Linked DNA regions of Homo sapiens: regions 2, 3, 4, 5, 6 and 7 are each linked to region 1. Evidence: promoter capture Hi-C in 16 types of primary human blood cells and fetal thymus (Javierre and others, 2016). All regions are on one chromosome and are shown on one strand. Each heading gives the region's core, a stretch centred on a gene start or on the middle of the fragment in contact. The rest is flanking DNA. Distances are from core to core; before and after follow the strand shown. Region 1 holds the start of ZNF180 (zinc finger protein 180). Region 2 overlaps ZNF146 (zinc finger protein 146). Region 3 holds the start of ZNF345 (zinc finger protein 345). Region 4 overlaps ZNF829 (zinc finger protein 829). Region 5 overlaps ZNF175 (zinc finger protein 175). Region 6 overlaps ZNF570 (zinc finger protein 570). Region 7 overlaps ZNF540 (zinc finger protein 540).

What was found. The method cuts DNA at HindIII sites, captures the fragments that hold promoters and counts their contacts. A CHiCAGO score of 5 or more calls a contact.
Region 2: a contact is called between a fragment that was not itself captured here and the fragment with the promoter of ZNF180 in region 1, in 1 of 17 cell types (non-activated CD4 T cells). The highest score is 5.1, in non-activated CD4 T cells.
Region 3: the fragment with the promoter of ZNF345 here is called in contact with the fragment with the promoter of ZNF180 in region 1 in 3 of 17 cell types (total CD4 T cells, monocytes and activated CD4 T cells); the score reaches 12.2 in total CD4 T cells.
Region 4: a fragment that was not itself captured here is called in contact with the fragment with the promoter of ZNF180 in region 1 in 3 of 17 cell types (total B cells, total CD4 T cells and non-activated CD4 T cells); the score reaches 8.1 in total B cells.
Region 5: a fragment that was not itself captured here is called in contact with the fragment with the promoter of ZNF180 in region 1 in 2 of 17 cell types (non-activated CD4 T cells and activated CD4 T cells); the score reaches 9.9 in non-activated CD4 T cells.
Region 6: a contact is called between a fragment that was not itself captured here and the fragment with the promoter of ZNF180 in region 1, in 2 of 17 cell types (non-activated CD4 T cells and total B cells). The highest score is 5.6, in non-activated CD4 T cells.
Region 7: a contact is called between a fragment that was not itself captured here and the fragment with the promoter of ZNF180 in region 1, in 1 of 17 cell types (activated CD4 T cells). The highest score is 7.9, in activated CD4 T cells.

What each region holds. Positions count from the first base shown.
Region 1 is chr19:44,499,101-44,501,844 of GRCh38, reverse strand. It overlaps ZNF180 (zinc finger protein 180), which reads left to right and starts at 1,323. Exons shown (of 5, transcript NM_001278509.3): 1 at 1,323-1,570. RefSeq lists enhancers at 868-917, 1,094-1,388, 1,228-1,437, 1,448-1,507, 1,054-1,554 and 2 more. The HindIII fragment of the contact is 10,008 bases long and covers 1-2,744 here.
Region 2 is chr19:36,216,052-36,218,795 of GRCh38, reverse strand. ZNF146 (zinc finger protein 146) reads right to left here. Exons shown (of 4, transcript NM_007145.3): 2 at 601-674. It also overlaps a transcript of ZNF565 not described here. Among named protein-coding and RNA genes, the nearest start is that of ZNF146, 2.3 kb to the right of the region's middle. The HindIII fragment of the contact is 3,004 bases long and covers 1-2,744 here.
Region 3 is chr19:36,849,455-36,852,198 of GRCh38, reverse strand. ZNF345 (zinc finger protein 345) reads right to left here and starts at 1,323. Exons shown (of 3, transcript NM_001242472.2): 1 at 1,231-1,323; 2 at 295-369. It also overlaps a transcript of ZNF790 not described here. RefSeq lists an enhancer at 1,561-1,800. The HindIII fragment of the contact is 2,588 bases long and covers 1-1,560 here.
Region 4 is chr19:36,905,072-36,907,815 of GRCh38, reverse strand. The region is part of intron 5 of ZNF829 (zinc finger protein 829); the gene reads left to right. Among named protein-coding and RNA genes, the nearest start is that of ZNF829, 9.8 kb to the left of the region's middle. The HindIII fragment of the contact is 3,429 bases long and covers 1-2,744 here.
Region 5 is chr19:51,572,434-51,575,177 of GRCh38, reverse strand. It overlaps ZNF175 (zinc finger protein 175), which reads right to left. Exons shown (of 5, transcript NM_007147.4): 2 at 1,777-2,028. The coding sequence starts at 1,848. Among named protein-coding and RNA genes, the nearest start is that of ZNF175, 2.5 kb to the right of the region's middle. The HindIII fragment of the contact is 1,968 bases long and covers 359-2,326 here.
Region 6 is chr19:37,475,681-37,478,424 of GRCh38, reverse strand. ZNF570 (zinc finger protein 570) reads right to left here. Exons shown (of 5, transcript NM_144694.5): 3 at 2,418-2,544; 4 at 1,991-2,086. Among named protein-coding and RNA genes, the nearest start is that of ZNF570, 7.7 kb to the right of the region's middle. The HindIII fragment of the contact is 1,736 bases long and covers 507-2,242 here.
Region 7 is chr19:37,598,579-37,601,322 of GRCh38, reverse strand. It overlaps ZNF540 (zinc finger protein 540), which reads right to left. Exons shown (of 5, transcript NM_001172225.3): 3 at 1,571-1,697; 4 at 218-313. Among named protein-coding and RNA genes, the nearest start is that of ZNF540, 5.1 kb to the right of the region's middle. The HindIII fragment of the contact is 966 bases long and covers 860-1,825 here.

The DNA.
Region 1 (2,744 bases), core at 74-2,573:
TTAGCCAACGAATATTTATTGAGCATCTATTATGTGCCAGGTCTCTCTCTTTTTTTTTTTTTTAGGTGTTGGGGATGCAGCAGTGATCAACATCGATAAAATGCTTTTCCTTATGGAATTGACATCGTAGTGGTAGGTCGGACAGTAGACCAAATAAATAATTAAAATATATAGTGTGCTAGATAGTGAAAAGTTCTTTAGAGAAAAAAATAAAAGATGAAGGGGGAGGCACAGAGCATGTGGGGAGGGAAGCGTTTGCTTGCAAGTTCACAACGGGTGGTGGGGCAATGCCTCATGAGAAGATGATATTCCCCTAATTACCAGACGGTGAGAGCCAAATGAATCCCTCAGGAGAGGCTGCTAGGGAGTGCAAAGAGCACCTGCAAACGACCAGGGGCTGGAGTCTGCTGGATCTGTTGGAGAATGGGGAAAATGTGCCAAGCAAATGGGCAAGAAATGAGGGCAAAGAGAAAAGGGGACTACGCCTGTAATCCCAGCACTTTGGGAGGCCGAGGGCGGATCACCTGAGGTCAGGAGTTGGAGACTAACCTGGCCAACGTGGTGAAACCCCGTCTCTACTAAAAATACAAAAATTAGCCGGGCGTGGTGGCTGGCGCCTGTAATCCCAGCTATTCAGGAGGCTGAGGCAGGAGAATCGCTTGAATCCGGGAGGTGGAGGTTGCAGTGAGCCGAGATCGCGCTATTGCCCTCCAGCCTGGGCGACAAGAGCGAAATTCCGTCTCAAAACAACAAAACAAAACAAAACAAAAACAGAGAAAAGGGGAGAGGTGGGGGGAACAGATCCTTCAGGCCTTATAGGCAGAGAAAGAACTCAAAATTTAAAAATAAAATGATTATATTTTAGTATTATTAAATGTAAAAACATAGATTCCTGAAGGGTTCGGTAGACGCTCCCTCCACTGTAAAATGGGGATGTCGCAACTGTCTCACAGGTTTCCCCTAGGACTAGAGGAGACAAGGGGTCGCGCGCAGCGTCTGACAGGCAGGGGGCACCCAGAAAGGGTCCCCGCCATTTCTATTGGATTCTGACGTCACGCCAGAGCGACTCCCCATGCGTCGCTGCACTGGCCTCGGCCTCCCGGCGCCGCGGCTGGTCTTAGTGCTCCCCCTAGACCTGCACATGCACAGGTGTGGCGCCCCCCCGGGCCCCGGACGAGGACGCCCTCTTAGCTTCTGGCCCGGTCCCCCGCCCCACTTCCTTGGAGAAGCCGGAACCCCGCCTACTGACCGTCCGCGCCGCGGAGGCTTCTGGGAATTGTAGTTCTGGCTCTCCGAGCCCAAGTGCACTTCCGGGTTCGGCCACAAGAGCAGCCATTGTCCCGCGCGCGGACGCTTGCTGTCGCCGAGCAGCTCGGCCCTTCAGACTTAACCCCCAGCGGCCTTGCGGATGCTGACTAGGAGAGGGGACCGAACTAGCTTAACCCGAGTCGGCCGTGTTGCAGAATCGGGGCAGGGGGTTGCCTAACCCGAGTTCGTCCTGCCGCAGAGCCGTGCTAGGCACTGAGGCGGTGACAGGCCCAGCCTGGGCTGCGGGCCAGCGGACGCCCAGGTTGGTAGGGGCGTGGGGCAGCGCTTGGTGTCCGATGCGCGCATGCGCAGGGTCTACGCGGGAAGCTGGAAGCGGTGGTGAGTGTAGCGGGGAGACCTGGTATCTGTGCGGGTGGCGCTTTAGCCTCGGGTCACCGGGGTTGATGGAGTTACTGATACAGCTGTATATTCCGCGACTGTCCTCTGCGTGCATGCGCGGGTGCTTGGTCAGGTGGTGCTCTTGTCTGGGGCCTGAGGATGCCCAGGTTGCTGGAACACAGGGCACATGCATTGATGTAAGGGGACATCTTGAGAACTCCCCTCCTCCAATGCCGGGCTTATTTAGTGGAGGCCTGAGGATGTCCGGGTTGATGGAGTGCTCCATTGCAGATTGTGGTTTCTGGAGAGGAGGGGCTGTGCCACTGTCCCTTTACTCTTGATCAGGTATTTGGGTAGGAAGCAAAAGGTTGTAGGTAAGATTCCGAGCAGGTGGCTCTGGGCCCCTAGAGCAGACAACGCGCTTCTCCAAGGTCTGGGGGCGCTGTGGTTGGTGGAGAGACCAGATTGGAGTTGCAGATTCTTGTGCCAGAAGAGGCAGTGTTGCTAGTGAACCCTTGGTGGGAATTACCCATGGGCAGCAAACTCCCAGGCTGAAGGAGGGTATCAGGGCCTAGAAACAGGTTCTGGGCAGAGGGCCCCCTGCACGTCCTGGGGGTGTCTGAATGGAAAACAGAAACTTGAACTGATAGTAGGGACCTATGTAGGATAGTGCAGAGCTCTAGAGCATTCAAGATGGGCAGAGACTCCGGGTTGGAGATACAGAATTTAAGTCCAGGAAGGACAGAGCTGCAACAGCTGCCATCAAATTGGTAGCTGGGGAGGAAGCAGTATGTTGCCAGCATCGTTATGAAGCAGGTGTTGCTGAGACCTTTACTTGGGTACGCTATTTGCAGGCGTGAGAATGTGCAGGTTAGTAGAGGGACAGAGCCTGTGCTGCAGATTTGGTCCCGGGAAGAGCTGACTGCACAACACCCAGGCCGTCATGATTGGGCAAGAGAAGGACAAAGGGCCCAGTTCCCATTGAGCTGCTGTATCGTAGGCTCGAGAACCCCCACGCTGGCGAGTGCCCAAGTCCTGGGGCTGATTATGGAGCTGTATGCTCAAGCTACTGTTTAGTTGTTGTAGTGTCCTGGCTG
Region 2 (2,744 bases), core at 160-2,659, 8.3 Mb after region 1:
TAAAAAAATTAAAATATAGAAATATTAGGCCGGGCGCAGTGGCTCACGCCTGTAATGCCAGGACTTTGGGAGGCTGAGGCAGGTGGATCACAAGGTCAGGAGATCCAGACCATCCTGGCTAACGCGGTGAAACCCCATCTCTACTAAAAATACAAAAACAAAATTAGCCAGGCGTGGTGGCTGGCACCTGTAGTCCCAGCTACTCAGGAGGCTGAGGCGGGAGAATGGCATGAACCAGGGAGGCAGAGCCTGCAGTGAGCCGAGATCAGGCCACTGCACTGCAGCCTGGGCGACAGTGAGACTCCATCAAAAAAAAAAAAGAAATATTAATAACAAAAGTGCATCTACATATCTTATTCTTTCAGAAATTCCTACCAGACACAGGACTATAATATTTTCTGAGGAAGCATTTTTTTTGCAGCTAGTAATAAAAAGTACTAGTATTTAACATTAATCAAGTACTTACTACACACTGGGGACTATTCTTAGAACTTTACATGTATTAACTTCTGGAGCTACACAACCACCCTTTGAATCAAATATTGCTATTATTTCTATACTATGAAATGAGCAACTGAGGCCCAAGGTTTAAGTACCTACCTGAGGTCCCCAAGGTAAAAAGTGGCAGAGGAAGGAGTTAACACAGGAAGTCTGGCTCCTTGGCCTATGTCTTCCTTTAATTTAAAAAAAAAAAAAAAAAAATTAGCTCATGCCTGTAATCCCAGTACTTTGGGAGGCTGAGGCAGGCAGATCACATGAGGTCAGGAGTTCGAGACCAGCCTGGTCACCATGGTGAAACCCCGTCTCTACTAAAAATACAAAGCCTTTGCCCTGTCTATTCCAGTACCCCCACCCCAACAGCCAGTTTTATTATTTCGTATGTATCTTTTGAATTTTTTTTTTTTTTTTTGAGATGGAGTTTCACTCTCGTTGCCCAGGTTGGAGTGCAATGGCGCAATCTCTGTTCACTGCAACCTCCGCCTCCCGGGTTCAAGCAATTATCTTGCCTCAGCCTCCCAAGTAGCTGGGATTAACAGGCATGTGCCGCCACGCCTGGCTAATTTTGTATTTTTAGTAGAGACGGGGTTTCTCCATGTTGGTCACGCTGGTCTCAAACTCCTGACCTCAGGTGATCCGCCTGCGTTGGCCTCCCAAAGTGCTGGGATTATAAATACATATTCTTATTACCCCTTTTCTTATTCCAAATGCATCGTGTATCATACTCTACATTCTGCACCTTGCTTTCTCTCAGTTAACAATACATTTTGAAGTTATTTCTGTCTCAGTATATAAAGAGCTTCCTCCTCATTCTTTTGTACAGCTATGTATTATTTTGTTGTATCGATGTACACCAATCTCCCACTGATGGGCATGAACTGTTTTTCTTTTCTTTCTTCTCTCTCTCTCCTTTCTTTCTTTCTTAAGACAGGGTCGGCCAGGCACCGTGGTTCATGCCTGTAATCCTAGCACTTTGGGAAGCCGAGGCGGGCCGATCACTTGAGGTCAAGAGTTCAAGACCAGCCTGGCCAACATGGTAAAACCCTGTCTCTACTAAAAATACAAAAAAAGTAGCCGGGTGTGGTGGCAGGCAACTAATCCCAGCTACTCGGGAGGCTGAGCCAAGAGAATCGCTTGAACCTGGGGGGCAGAGGTTGCAGGGAGCAGAGATTGGGCCACTGCACTCTAGACTGGGCAAGAGAGAGAGACTCCATCTCAAAAAAAAAAAAAAAAAAAAAAAAAGACAGGGACTGGCTGTCCACCAAGCTGGAATGCTGTCGCCAGGATCTCTGCTCACTGCAGCCTTGACCTCCTAGGCTCAAGTGATCCTCCCACCTCAGCCTCCCAAGCAGCTAGGACTACGGGAGATCTCACTATGTCGCCCAAGCTGGTCTCTAACTCCTGGACTCTAGCCATCCTCCTGCCTTGGCTCACAGGTGTGAGCCACCAAGCCCGGCCTGAGGCTTTATATTTAAAATGTGTTGGGTCCCCATCTCCCCACACCTCAACGCCTTTTCTTTCTCAGTCTGTACTGGCTCTTGCAGCTTGTCTCTTTCCATAGTAAGTCTAGGATCAGTTCCCCTAGTTCCAAAAGAGAAAAGCCTGTCCATACTTTTATTAGGATCACATTATTACTATTATTGAGACGGAATCTCGCTCTTGTCCAGGCTGGAGTGCAGTGGCGAGATCTGGGCTCACTGCAACCTCCGCCTCCCAGGTTCAAGCGATTTTCCTGCCTCAGCCTCCGCGGTAGCTCAGATTACAGGCGCCCGCCACCACGCCCGGCTAATTTTTGTATTTTTTTATTTTATTTTTTTTTAGTAGAGACAGGGTTTCACCATGTTGGCCAGGCTCCTCTCGAACTCCTGATCTCAGGTAATCCACCCATCTCGGCCTCCCAAAGTGCTAGGATTACAGGCATGAGCCACCGCACCCGACCAAGATCACAGTAAATTAATACATTCACTTAAGTTTGCGCACACTTCTTAATGTCACATGGTATATTTATTTGTTCACATTTGTTATGCCCCTTAGTAGTATTTTAAAGTTCTTTCCTAATAGTTCTGAACCTTTAAGTTTCTTCCACAATACTTTATCTTTTTACTGCTATTGTAAATATTAGTTTTCTTCAACTATGTATTCTAACTGATATTTGTAAATTAGAAGGCTATTTATTTATAGATATTAACTTGGTACCCAATTACTTTATTTAACTTTTTGTAATTTAAAACTATGTCAATGACGAC
Region 3 (2,744 bases), core at 74-2,573, 7.6 Mb after region 1:
GAGTAGAAGGATAAGGCCGGGCACAGCAGCTCACGCCTGTAATTCTGTCTCAAAAAAAAAAAAAAAAAAAGAAAGAAAGAAAAAAAAAAGAAAAAGAAAAATTAAAACCATCTGACAAATCAGTAAGGGAAAATCAGGTGTGGGAGGTGGGGTTTGAAGACACCACATTTTCTCAAAATGGAAACTCCAGGGATCAGGTCATCTCATAGGCAAGAATTTTCAAGAGAAGGAAAGCAACTATGTCCTGACAAAGAAAAAGGGATTTTTCTTAAACAAGAGGACAGGACAAGCTACCTTGCAGGTGCCTTGTGGATGTTCAACAGCCATTCTTTACTCCTGTTCGGAGGCCTCTATCCAAGCAGGGCAGGGCTGAGGAAGGAGAAAGCAGTCAGGAAACATCAGGTTCTTCTGAGAGGGAGTTGGTTTGACTATGTCAGAAGTTATCTTTGCTCAGCCCCTACTGCCCATCACCTACAGAGGAAGGTCAGAGAAGTCTAGGGCATCCTGCTTAATCCGGGCATCACAGACAACGGTAGGGTCAATGCCGTTCTGGGCAGAACCTGTCCCTGAGCTCACAGGGGTCTCCAATGGCTGAAGTCACAAAGACAAAGACTCCCCATACCTACATTGGCTATACGGACACATAGTCACACAAACTCACTCACACCGCAGGGACATAAACGTCACAGGCACCCCAAACCTAAACACAACACACAATCACACACTCATACACACCACGGGGGTAGACACGGACACAACCACAGAGTCCGTGGGCATCTCTCAAATTCCCAGTGACATACACCTTGGGGTCACAATGACAACAAATTCACACGCACCCTCCATCAACAATATCACCAACGCGCGCGCACACACACACACGGAAGCAGCCACAAACCTCAAAATTAAGGCATACTACACACAGTTCGGCAAATGGTAGTAAACACACACACACACACCCCAAGGGGACATACAGTCACAACCGCGGTCCAGGAACCTCACACTCGCAAACACAGTGCCCAACCCGGTCACAATTAAACTCTACTCACACCCGCACAAACATAAACAAAAAGTCCTCCTCCCCGCCCTCACAGTTCCATACACGGTCGCACAGACACACGCCCCCAGTCACAACCGTACACACTCCTCACAATCGCTCCTTAGCCTGTTCCCCACGCAGCCCACACAGGTCGGGAGTTCCTGTCGCGCCAGGCTCCGAGCCGCCTCACTTACGCCTGTTCGGATAGGGTCAGCTCCGTTCTACTAGAATCCACACAAGTCGACCCTAGCTATCTCACAAAGCCCCAAGGCCGCTTGCCCAAATCCGCGGGAAGATCCCGCCCACTCCTCAAGAGACAATCTAGTTATCGCGGGAGAGTGCCCTGGGCCTAGAGGCTTCTGGGAAGTGTAGTCCAGAAAGCGACAGGTTGCCGAAAGCTACAGCCCAGCCATCCCGATTCCCCTGGCGCGGACTCTGGCACCAACAAAACTATCTCTTTGAGGTGAGCTGCCCATCGGAGCCTTCCGGGAGTCTCACCTGACAAGGAGTCCCTAGACCAAGCTTTAGTCAGGCTCCTCTGAGCCCTTTTTGCTTGGCCAGGCCTCCTCCATAGCCTGCGAACAGCACTTCAGCAAGAATCCAGCTAAGCCAGTTTAGTAACAATCCCCCCACTCTTGATACTTAACTTCCTCTTAGTAATTTAGCATCCTTTAACTCCTTCACCCAGCCCGTTAGCTATAAATCTCCAGCTGCTGTTGTATTGGAAGTTGACTATTGCAATAGTCTTTAACCAAGTCCTTCTTGCCTGTTTAAGTCCTCTGGGGCAAGCTTTCTTTCACCCCGCCCAGCCTCAGAGGGCGGCTCCCGGGCTTCCGCCCCTCCTCGGGAGACATACTGGACCGCAGGGTCTCCTGGGAAACGTAGTCCAAGCCTCGCCGGGGATAGATGGGCCCAACTAAAGTGTGCTGCGTTCTCTGGGTCCTGAGGCGGCAGTCTGGCCGCAGTGACCAGACTAACTGTGCCCCGGAGGCTGCTTGGAATTCCACTTAACGCTGGAAGCACGCAGACGCTCTTGAGGCGGGCAGCTGCGTAGCGTGTGGAGGAGCCGGGAGAGCGCACCCCAATGTGGCACCTGAGCGTCTGGGACCGAACCAGCATGGGGAGTCGGAAGGGGACAAATCCGCGATCCCAGTCATGCATGTGAGACTGGGCAAAGGAAGGCTCGAGTGTGTGTGAGACCGCGGTGGGCCTGCTTGTGCTGGTGGGATGAGGGGTGTCTGGGTAGTTGAGTGAAAGAAACCGCGTGCGGGTCAGATTGGTGTGTGTGTGAGAGAAGTGAGGTCAAGATGTGTGCAGCTTTGGGCGTGGGGAGGTCATATTGAGTGTGTGGAGGTGGGGGGGGCAAGATCGTGTATGGATCTGTGTATGAGTGTGTGTAATCACCTGAATGTGGGTCACTGCGTGGGTAGCTGATACTATGACTGTGGAGGAATCTGAACCTCCAAGTCTCATTTTCTCTTTAAATTGTGATAACAAGGTTGTATCTTCCTGGTGCAGCAGTTTTAAAGGGGGGAAGCTCCATTACTGATATAATAAAATAGCATTTTTTATGTAAACATTTAACATTCAGACATTTCTTCTGAACTAGAGTACAAAATCAGTTATGAGTACTCCAAGTAGTTTAAAAAAGAAACCCGTCATAATAGATGCATATGGGGAAGATAAATAGTGAAAGGGGAACTTCCTT
Region 4 (2,744 bases), core at 132-2,631, 7.6 Mb after region 1:
TTTTTTTTTTTTCTCATACTTTTTCCCTAGTCCAATATAGCAAGTACCTCCCTGGCTACAATTATGCTATAATTATTCTAGTCACATTTTAGTTTCATTCCTTCCTATGATACGCTACGTTTAGATTTGTATAACAGTAGACATTCCCACCCTGAGAAATAGATGTAAGTGCATGTGTGTCTTTTTCTTTCCCTGTGCTTGTTTTCATTTTATCTACTTTCAGCTATTTAACATCTTTGACCAGTTTGTTCTGGATTTAAAAGCTCATTCTTTCATTTATCAAACATTTGATTATTTCTTACTTGAAAACAAAATTGAAGTATAACATACACACATAAAACTGCATGACTATGATTGCATAGTATGGTGAAATTGAGAATGGTGAAACCACTACTAGGACGATAAATAGAACATTACTAGCACCTCAGAACCCCTTCTCTGCCCCTTCCCAATCACCAGCCTCTTTTTCCTCTCTCAAAATAAATACCATCCTGACATTTGGCACCATGGATTCGTTTTGCCTATTTTTGAACTTTGTATAGACGCAATCACACAGTATTTAGTCTTTTGCCTTTGGCTTTTTTTGCTCAACATTATGTTTATGTGACATATCTATGGTGCTGCATATATCTGGTGTTAGTTCATTCTTATTGGCTATGTTATATTTCATTCTATGAATATATACATATATATATATATATACATTTTTTTTTTTTTTTTTTTTTTTTGAGATGGAGTCTTGCTCTGTTGCCCAGGCTGGAGTGCAGTGGTGTGATCTCAGCTCACTGCAACCTCTGCCTCCTGGGTTCAAGCGATTCTCCTGTCTCAGCCTCCCGAGTAGCTGGAACTACAGGCCTGCGCCACCACGCCCAGCTAATTTTTTGTATTTTTAGTAGAGACAGGGTTTCAACATGTTGGCCAGGCTGGTTTCAAACTGCTGACTTCAGGTGATCCACCCGCCTCAGCCTCCCAAAGTGCTGGGATTACAGGCGTAACCCACTGTGTCCTGCTTCATTCTATGAATATTTTTTAAATTATGCTTTATATATTATTAATTACTATAAGTGTCCTTCTGTTGACAGTTGGTTTGTTTGCAGTTTTTAGCTATTAAACATAATGCTGCTGTGAACGTTCCTGTGTATAACTTTTGGTAAATGTATGTACACATTTCTTTTAGGTATATACATAGGAGTGGAATTACTGAGCAATAGGATATGTGTGTGTTCAACTTTAGTAAATATACCAATTTTCCAAAGTAGTTATACCAATTTGCAGTTCTACTAGCAGTATGAAGGTTACTATTGCTCTGCATTCTTACATTCTTACCAGTTATTATTGCCAGGCCCTTTAATTTTAGTTATTCTGATGTGTGTGTTCTGTGACATGCCTGTTTAAGTTTCTTGGCTAAACTTAGTCGGTTGTCTATCTTTTTCCTGTTGGTTTCAAAGAATTCTTATTATATTCTATGTATCAGCCCTGTGTTTGGTTATACATGATGTAAATATCTCCCACCACTTTATACCTTGCCCTTTACTCTTTTAATAGTACCTTTTGATGAACAGAAGTTATTAATTTTAATGTGGTCACAGTTATCTTTTTCTTTATAGTGTTGCTTTTTTGTGTCCTGGATAGGAATCATTGCCTACCCCAAGGTCTTGAAGATATTTCCTATGTTATATTCTAGTAGCTTTATTGTTTTACTTTTTCCATTTAGATCTACTTTCCTGAAGTTGGTATTTGTATGTGTTGTGAGGTAGGGGTCAAATTTCATTTTTTTTCCATGTGAATATCCAGTTGACTTCTTAGTGTTTATTGAGATGACTGTCCTTTTCCCATTCTATAGAGATAGGACTATATCTATCTTTTCCCCAATAGAAATAGGACTACCTTTGTCATAAATCAGGTATTCCTATTTCTGTGAGTCTATCTCTGAATTCTGTTCCTTTGGCTTATTTGTCTATCCTTGTGCCAATACCACACTATATTAATACTGTAGCATGTAATAAATCTTATCTAGTAGAGCAAGTTCTCCTGCTGCTGCTTAGTCCTTTGCATTTTCATTGTAAATTTTAGTATTAGGCCGGGCGCAGTGGCTCACGCCTGTAATCCCAGCACTTTGGGAGGCCGAGGTGGGTGGATCACCTGGGGTCAGGAGTTCAAGACCAGCCTGGGCAACATGGTGAAACCCCATCTTTACTAAAAATACAAAAATTAGCCAGGTGTGGTGGCGGGCACCTGTAATCCCAGCTACTCAGGAGGCTGAGGCAGGAGAATCGCTTGAACCAGGGAGGCGGAGGTTGCAGTGAGCCGAGATCACACCATTGCACTCCAGCCTGGGGGACAAGAGCAAAACTTGGTCTCACAAAAGAAAAAAAAAAAAAATTTAGAATTAGCTTATATAGTCATTTGAAACTTAATCAAAATGCCAAGTTATTTTTTCATGAGAATATTAATATCAGTTTGTGGAGAATTAAGATTTTTAAATAGCAAGTCTTATAAAAATGTTTGACTTTTTAATTTTATACACTAGTCTGCTAGGTGCTGTACAGTTTAGAAAATGTGTAGGCTTATTAAGAAACTTGTTATCTAATGTAGGAGCTAGAACATTGCTGTAAATAATTTCTACAGGATAAGATTCATCAATGAGAAGATCAAATAGGACGCTCAGAAGAAAGTTGTAAAACAGTCAAAAAATATGGAAGTGGAAATTGATCCAAGTAGAAGTTAATGGTTGGAGCCCTAGA
Region 5 (2,744 bases), core at 93-2,592, 7.1 Mb before region 1:
AAAATATAAATCAAAAGGTAAGAAAAAGTAACTCACTAAAGACAAGTAATTGACCAATAAAATTATGAAAAAAAAGCCTGTTTGTAAACAAAGTAATGCAAATTAAAACACTATACTATCTTTATTTCCATCACATTAGAAAAGATAAAAATAACAAAATAAAAATAGTACTGTCCAGAGCAGAGGGAAATACACACCACAAAGAGAAGATAATGTGCATGGTACTGGGATATACTCTGACATGAATTCAGACACTGATGGAAAATCTGAATTAGCGACAGCAGTATTGATTCAAATGATAAACTGGAAATCAGGTCAAGCAGAAAAAAAATTTCATTGTTAAAAAAGGAAAAAAGCTTATATTGAACATGTGTCCTAAAACGCTAAACTTGAAGATGTTCTGAACACGCAAGTTGACCAACATCAATGCAAATGAGAGAAACGTTTGTGCATCTGCACTGCTGTCACAAAGACTTAGACAATTTCATGTTTTAAACTTGTTTTGTTTTGAGACAGGGTCTCACTCTATTGCCCAGGCTGGAGTGTAGTGTCATGATTGCAGCTCACTGCAACCTTGACCGCCTCAAGCTCAGGTGATCCTCCCACGTCAACGTACTCAGTAGCTGGGACTACAGGTGCATGCCACCACACCTGGCTAATTTTTGTATTTTTGTAGAGTCTCGCCATGTTGCCCAGGCTGGTCTCCAACTCCTGGGCTCAAGTGATCCGCCCGCCTCGGCCTCCCAAAGTGCATGAGCCACTGTGCCCCACCTAAACTTGTATGTTTCAATTTTTCTTTTAAGAACGACTTTTAAATATTTGGGGTATTTACAATTTTGAAAATGATTTATATGTGCAATTTATTTTGTGTTAATGTTCCCTTCTTTTAATACTTTCTATTATCAAATGTTTCTAGCAGGTTGAGATGATTTTAACAGGTTACTGAAATATATAATCTCACAATATATTGGTTCAGGATAATAACACACATATTTATTATACTTTTTTTAAAAAACAGAACATCTCTGTAAATTTGGTTATAAACCCATCACAGAACAATGGTACACTGTTTACTATTATAGTCACATACTATTTAAAGACTTGTAAATAAAGCATCAAGAGATACACAGAATAATTTAGGATTTCAGGAAATCTTGACTATACCAAGAATTCTGATTTCTTGTTACCAAATCCTGACTATTTCTATCTGTGGGCAATCTGGAAACACTGTTTTCCAGCATTTTTTGTTCACCTTTTTAAACAGGAAAAAGTGTTTAAAAGCCTCTTCACATGGTCCTTAAAAGCCTCTTCTCACTCTACCTCCCTGTGACTATTTAAATTACAAAGGAAGGAGATTTTGCCGCACCTTATGAGAACAGAGGAAAAACGGGCCAAACCCCATGGACCAAGCAAGGAATTTGGTGGGGGGGACCACTTGAAATTTTTCAAAGACCCAGTGGTGGATGAAGGAGCAGAACCAGTGCTTAGCAGGAAAGAGTCAGCTTTTCCATCCTATGACTGGGGCTTCTGATCAGACCAGGGACTACAGTTTCTTCTTTCTTGACCCAAGGCCAACCCTCTACTATCCTCTTTTATCAGCCAGTTCATGGTTTCCTCTAGAACACAGATAGCCTATGAATGTGGAAACATCAGCCTCTGTGGTCCTCGCTTGACAGGAGGCTCAAGACTGACTCAGGAGCAGGGAGCCCAGACCTGCTGCATCCTGTGTCTGCCCTCACGTTCTGGAGAACTATCCCCAGGGCTGCCCCTGTTTACCTCGCAAGATCCATCCTGCTTCTCTGGACCCAGGACCTGAGGCTTCTGGGATAAATTCACATCAGCAGGCATCTCCACTCTGGGCTTCTACTCTCGGTCTCTCTTGCTGACAACTCCACTTTTCCCAGGAGCCAGAAGCTGGATAGGTGTTTGGATTTTCCAACCAGGGACACGGCGGAGAGTCGTACTGGGCTATGAAGAGAGATCCTGCAGCCTCAATGATGTGGCCTGACCTGGGGGTTCTGCAGAAGCCTTGGAAAAGCAATGAGTACATGGTCACTCATTCAACATTCACTCCACAAATATTTCCTGAGGGCACTGAGGTGAAGTCACTGTGTCAGACATTGGAGTAGACAAAGTTCAGAAAGCCCAACTCTAGTTATTAGTCAGGGTTAAAAATAAAGACTGAGTCTGGACTAAATGGTGAATTCATTGCAGCTTTGCCACATTTTCACTGTGAGAATATGAAAATATTACTTTAGTTGTAGTTTCCAAAATGAAAATGCAGGTATTTATCACAGATGTTGGGAAACTTAACCAAGATGAAGCTTGTCAAGTCCTCAGTGCCTGCCTGGCACGTGATAAATATGAATTAAAAAAAGAAAGTTGTCAATTTAATTGTCAGCTAAATATCATGGGCATTATCATACCCATTTTGAGGATGAGGATAATGAGGCTGTGTGCTGTTACATAATTTGCCTGAAGGTTACTCAGTCTGTAAATGGAAAAACAGGGAATCAGCCCCACATCTGCCTTGTTCTAAACTGTACACTGTCTCCACTATCTCATGTACCCATACGTGGCCAGCTTCCAGAAACACCATTTCCTCTTTCTGTTGCCTTCATAGAACTCAGGCCGGGAGGTGGCTCTGTCTGGTGTACCTATTCTGAGCTTCTGGACTTTTCAGTCCCCGTCCATAATACACCACACACAGACCAGCCTCTTCTGACTAGAGCTAAAACTTAAAA
Region 6 (2,744 bases), core at 125-2,624, 7.0 Mb after region 1:
GTTGCTGGATATAAGGCCAATGCATACGAAGTTAATTTCATTTCTATATATGAGCAACAAACAGAAAATATAGATAACATTTAACACAGCAACAAAACTAATATGTTTAATGTTTACAATTTAATCTAACAGAAGATGTGCAAAGCCTTTTTTGGAGAAAATTATAAAACACTGAAAAAAGTGAAAAAACCTAAATAAATGGAGAGCTATACCATGTTAATGAATTTTTAAAATTTCCAGAATTGATTACAGAATAAATAAAATTTGAATCAAAAGTTAAAATTTGAATCAAAAGTTAACAGCATTTTGTTGTTTTCTGATAGAAATTTACAAGTTGACCCTAAACTTTATATTGATGTCCAAAGGGCAAACAAGAAATTCTAAAGAATTTAAACAAGCTGTAGAGATTTTCCCTAGCAGATAATTATCCTTCTAATAAACTATTTTTATTAAGACAGTGTGGTACTGGTATAAGGAAACAGAGATCAATGAAACTGAATAAAGCTTAAAGTCAAACCCATATATAGACTAAAACCTGGTATATTAAGAGGTAACATTCAGAAAAACAGGCAGAGGGAACACTTATTCAAAAAATATCTGGGACCTTTGGTTTTCCATAAGATACAGAAATTAAATTCTTATTTAAAATAATCCTCAAAAATAAGTTCCAATTGGATTATGGACCTACATATAAAAGGACAATCTTTAAAAGACTATTTTCAGATATCTATATGAACTCAGAACATAGAAAGGTTTCTTAAAGTATCAAAAACATAAGCTACAGGCTGGGTGCAGTGGCTCACGTCTGTAATCCCAGCACTTTGGAAGGCTGAGGCTGGCGGATCACCTGAGATCAGGAGTTGGAGACCAGCGTGGCCAACATGGTGAAACCTCGTCTCTACTAAAAATACAAAAAAATTAGCCAGGCGTGGTGGTGGGTGCCTGTAGTTCCAGTTACTGGGGAGGCTGAGGCAGGAGAATCACTTGAACCCAGGAGGCAGAGGTTGCAGTGAGCCGAGATCATGCCACTGTACTCCAGCCTGGGCAACAGAGCGAGACTCTGTCTCAAAAAAAAAAAAAAAAGTTACAAATACACACACACACACACACACACACACACACACACACACACACACGACAACCTCCCCCACAATGAGCACCTTAGGAAAAATCACACATGCAACCTGTTTTTCCTTTTCTCTCGCACCACAACAATAAACACAGAAGGCTTCTGTGACTGAATGTGGGGGTTTCTCTCCACCAACAAGCAAGCAATGAATTCTGCAGTGGGTGTCCTCTACCTCAGCTCTATTTTGATACTGTCTACCTGGAGATAGCATCAGATCCCTCAGGTTGAGGACTCAGTCCCCAAGGCTGCCTACACTTCTGATGCTCTGTAGAGCTCAAAAATTTATAAGAGGCCAGGCACAGTGGTTCATGCCTGTAATGCCAGCACTTTGGAAGGCTGAGGCAGGCAGATCACGTGAGGTCAGGAGTTTGAGACCAGCCTAACATGGAGAAACCCTGTCTCTACTAAAAATACAAAAATTAGCTGGGCGTGGTGGCATGTGCCTGTAATTCCAGCTCCTGGGAAGGCTGAATCAGGAGAATTGCTTGAACCCGGGAGGCGGAGCTTGCAGTGAGCCGAGACTGCACCACTGCACTCCAGCCTGGGTGACAGAGCGAGACTCTGTCACAAAAAAAAAAAAAAAAAAAAAAGTTTATAAGACTACTACAAGATTTTTTAAAGACTGAGAGGCTTATGAAACTGAGAGGGGATGGGACTTGTTAGAAAGGAGATAGGAAAGTAAGAGAAGGGAAATAATTAAAAATAACAAATGTGGGAGAACATCCTAAATGGCCCCAAATTTTTATGAAAACCTAGAACATTTGAGAAGAATTTGGAAGCCTGAAGAGTGAAGAGGTGATACCTTTGAGTCAAGCTGAGCTGTCACGTGCAAAGATTTTTGCCAATTTCCTCTTCACTAACCTGAGCACAAGCCTTTTGTCAGCTCTCTCTTCACCATCCAGGGTGCTTTTCCTTGTTCCAACAATAATATCACACTTGGTTTGGAAAAGCAAAGTCCTGCAAATACGAAAAAAAAAAGTAGAGTTTTGTCATGCTGTGGATATTCCAGAACTCACATTCAATCCTTAGCTCATCAGGGAAAAGGGAGTTTACAGTAAGCAAAAAGAGAAATGTGTAAAGGACATGTATTAGAAGGATAAGGAAGATGAAGCTTCAGGCACAGGCCAAGAATATGTTCACTGCCAAATCCACAAACACTAAGCCATTTGTTTGGCATAGGCAGCAGACATTCAGCCAAATTTTGCAGATATTATCCAAAAATTCACAATAGTGGTAGCAAAGAGCCCCTTTTGAGCAGAAGCTCAGTTTTGCAAGAAGATATCCTTACCCAGTGATACCAAGATCCTGTAGTTCTCTAGCATCACATTACTGTACAGATGTCTTTGAGAAGAATCCAGACAATCCCATTCCTCTTGGGAGAAGTCTACAGCCACATCTCTGAAGGTCACCAACTCCTGAAATGAAATAAATGGAAGAACCTTATCTCTTACCATATTCACCTCATTTCCTCTGCCCTAGGCACACTGGGCTCTCTCTGATATTACATCCTCAAATATGTAACCATGTTATCATATTTGTACTCAGGGCCTTTGTATATCTCAGATTATTCCAGTATAAAATAGCACTGCTTCCACCCCAATTCCCTATTTCCTAA
Region 7 (2,744 bases), core at 93-2,592, 6.9 Mb after region 1:
AACAAAGACAGGTGGTAAGTAGGAGCCAAGATGAGGTTCTTTTGATAGTTCATGCTCAGATGATCTGTTTTCTTCCCTGTCTTAACCTTTACTCCAAAGGCCTGAGGCCTCTGAGAGTAACTCCCTAAACAGCATGCAAAGCCTGTATATGCTCCCTCACCAGCTGGCCGTGACTGGCAATGAGGGCTTCCATCTGCCTGATGAACTCTCAACTCACCGGGGCACTGTCTTCCTGTCACATCCCTCGCCACCACGCAGGGCTCTTTCCCTTGCTCCAGTAAGGTAATCACATCTGGCTTTGAGCCAGAATATCCTGCTTACAAGAAAGAAATAAAAGAATATATAGAAATAAAACATTGCACATTCAGAAACATTTTGAGACTTGGTTAAATTTATATGGATCAACATGATTTCGATGAAGACTTCGGAAAAAACTGACAGGATTAAAGAATATTCAACTTAGTGTAACCTCAGGATCCCAGAGAATAAAGAAACTTGATGGGCAGGGGAATTAAAATTCATCTAGGAGAATTTTAATTCATTTTGGAATTAAAACTCATACAGACTGGCTCTATTGAGAGGCAGTAGTTATTGAGGGCATAGCCTCTGAAGCCAGACTATGTGGGTCCAAATTCTACTCTACTACCTATTGACTAATGATTGTAAACAAACTGGTTAAATTATTTGGGCCTCAGTTTTTTCATCTGTAAAATGAAAATAAAAGTAGTACCTTTTATTTTCTTTTTTTCTTTTGTATCTTGTAGCTAGTACTTAGAATGATGCCTGGTATATAGTAAGCACTCTATTAGCTATTATTATTTTTGTTGTTGTTAATTTACTTAGAGCAAAACAAGAAGCTTCCTAAAATATTTCTAGGTTCTTGCTAAGATATTCATTTAAAGTTAGATGCTAAGTTAATAAATTTTATTTTACTTTAACTAATTTCAACTTTTATTTTAGATACAGGGCCATACGTGCAGGTTTGTTACCTGGGGATATTGTGTGATGCTGAGGTTTGAGGTACATTTGATCCCACCACCCAGGTACTGAGCATAATGTCCAATAGGTAAAATTTTCAATCACAAATCAGTAAGAGAAAATATTTGTTTTAGGAAGTAGAATGCATTCACTTTAATTTTAAATCAATGTTATTGGTCTGAACCATGACATGTAAATTGTAGACCCTGGGTAGGGCTGTTATCCTTATAGGCATGTTACCAAATAACAGAGCATCCATAGCAATTCTGAGCTCAAATGCAATGTGAAACCTGATTTCATTGACATTGGCTTTGGAGTAAATGCCCCAAAATTCAAATCCAGTCTCTTAACTATTAAGGAAGAAGTAACTACAGTAATGGATTAAGGAACATTTCATGAGGCTCAGTGAGGTATGGTGAAAATGAAAGCATTTAGTGGAAGTGCCATTCACAAACCATCAAAGTTCAGTCCATTCCTTGAGGAAGAGAGAAGAAATTCAGCTAGTTTCTTAATAATTAGTCCTAAATTTGTGGAAGAGAAAGCTACTATTTCAGATAACAGAGTCTACATTATTTGACATAGGTGACCTTACCCAGTGAGACCAAGTTATTATAATTCTCCAACATCACATCTCTGTACAATTTCCTCTGGGTAGTGTCCAGGCACTCCCATTCCTTCTGAGAGAAGTCTATAGCCACATCCCTGAACGTCACCAATGCCTGAAACCATAAACCAACATATTACTGGTGAAATTACAGAACAAGTATTTTAAAAAGAAGAAAAGGAGATAAAAGGTTTCATTGCAGCAAGGGGTACTATACTAAACTCTAGGCTGGGGCTGAAAGCTTATGATAAAGATAGAAGAAAGGAACCAGGTGTTCTAAAGCAGAGTCACCTCATTTTCTTGAAGAATCCAGCCACTATATGCAAAATTTCCTGTATATTATGGGGTTCTTTAACTACTCAAAACATTTCTGGGAACAAATAAATGTTTCCCAATTCAATTAAACAGTGGATACAAGCAAATAAACTATATTTCTACCTCAAAAATTCTCAATAAATTATTACTTAATAATAAATACTTTAAGAAAAACCACTTAATACATAAAAAAGAATCCTATATCCTCTTTTTCCTTTAAGTTTATCTATCTATCTATCTATCTATCGATCAATCGATTGATCAATCGAGACGGAGATCTCACTCTGTTGCCCACGCTGGAGTACAGTGGTGAACTCAGAAGTTCGAGGCCATAGTACCTCACTGCAAATCTGGGAGAATACAATTAACTAATATTTATGTATCTGGATGATTTTCTTATAAGTACTACACACCTTCTTTTTTCTTGAGATTAAGAATATTGATGTAATGAACCAGAATCATACTGATGTCAAGACTAGCACATTCCGTTTAACCACAAAATGCGTCTTACTATGGGTTTTCACCTCAGAGATTCTCAGGAAAGATCCCCTGGCCTCTCTATAAGCAGGCCCCAACCACATACTGAAACTGAGGCCAATCAATATTAAACTGCATTTATCTACAGACACAGGATCTGTGGAAAACTGCAGTGCTTTCCTACGTGTAGTCAAATGATTCCATTCTTGGTTTCATTACACCTCAGATCTGACAAAGGATGGTAAAGTACCTCCCCCTCTAGGAACTTCATGTCTGTTCCATCTCTGCCCTAGACAGAGACTGAGTACCCTGAATGAGTTGGTCAATGTGCATGTGGATACTGGTTAGAAAAGAGAGGGGGCCCATGGGA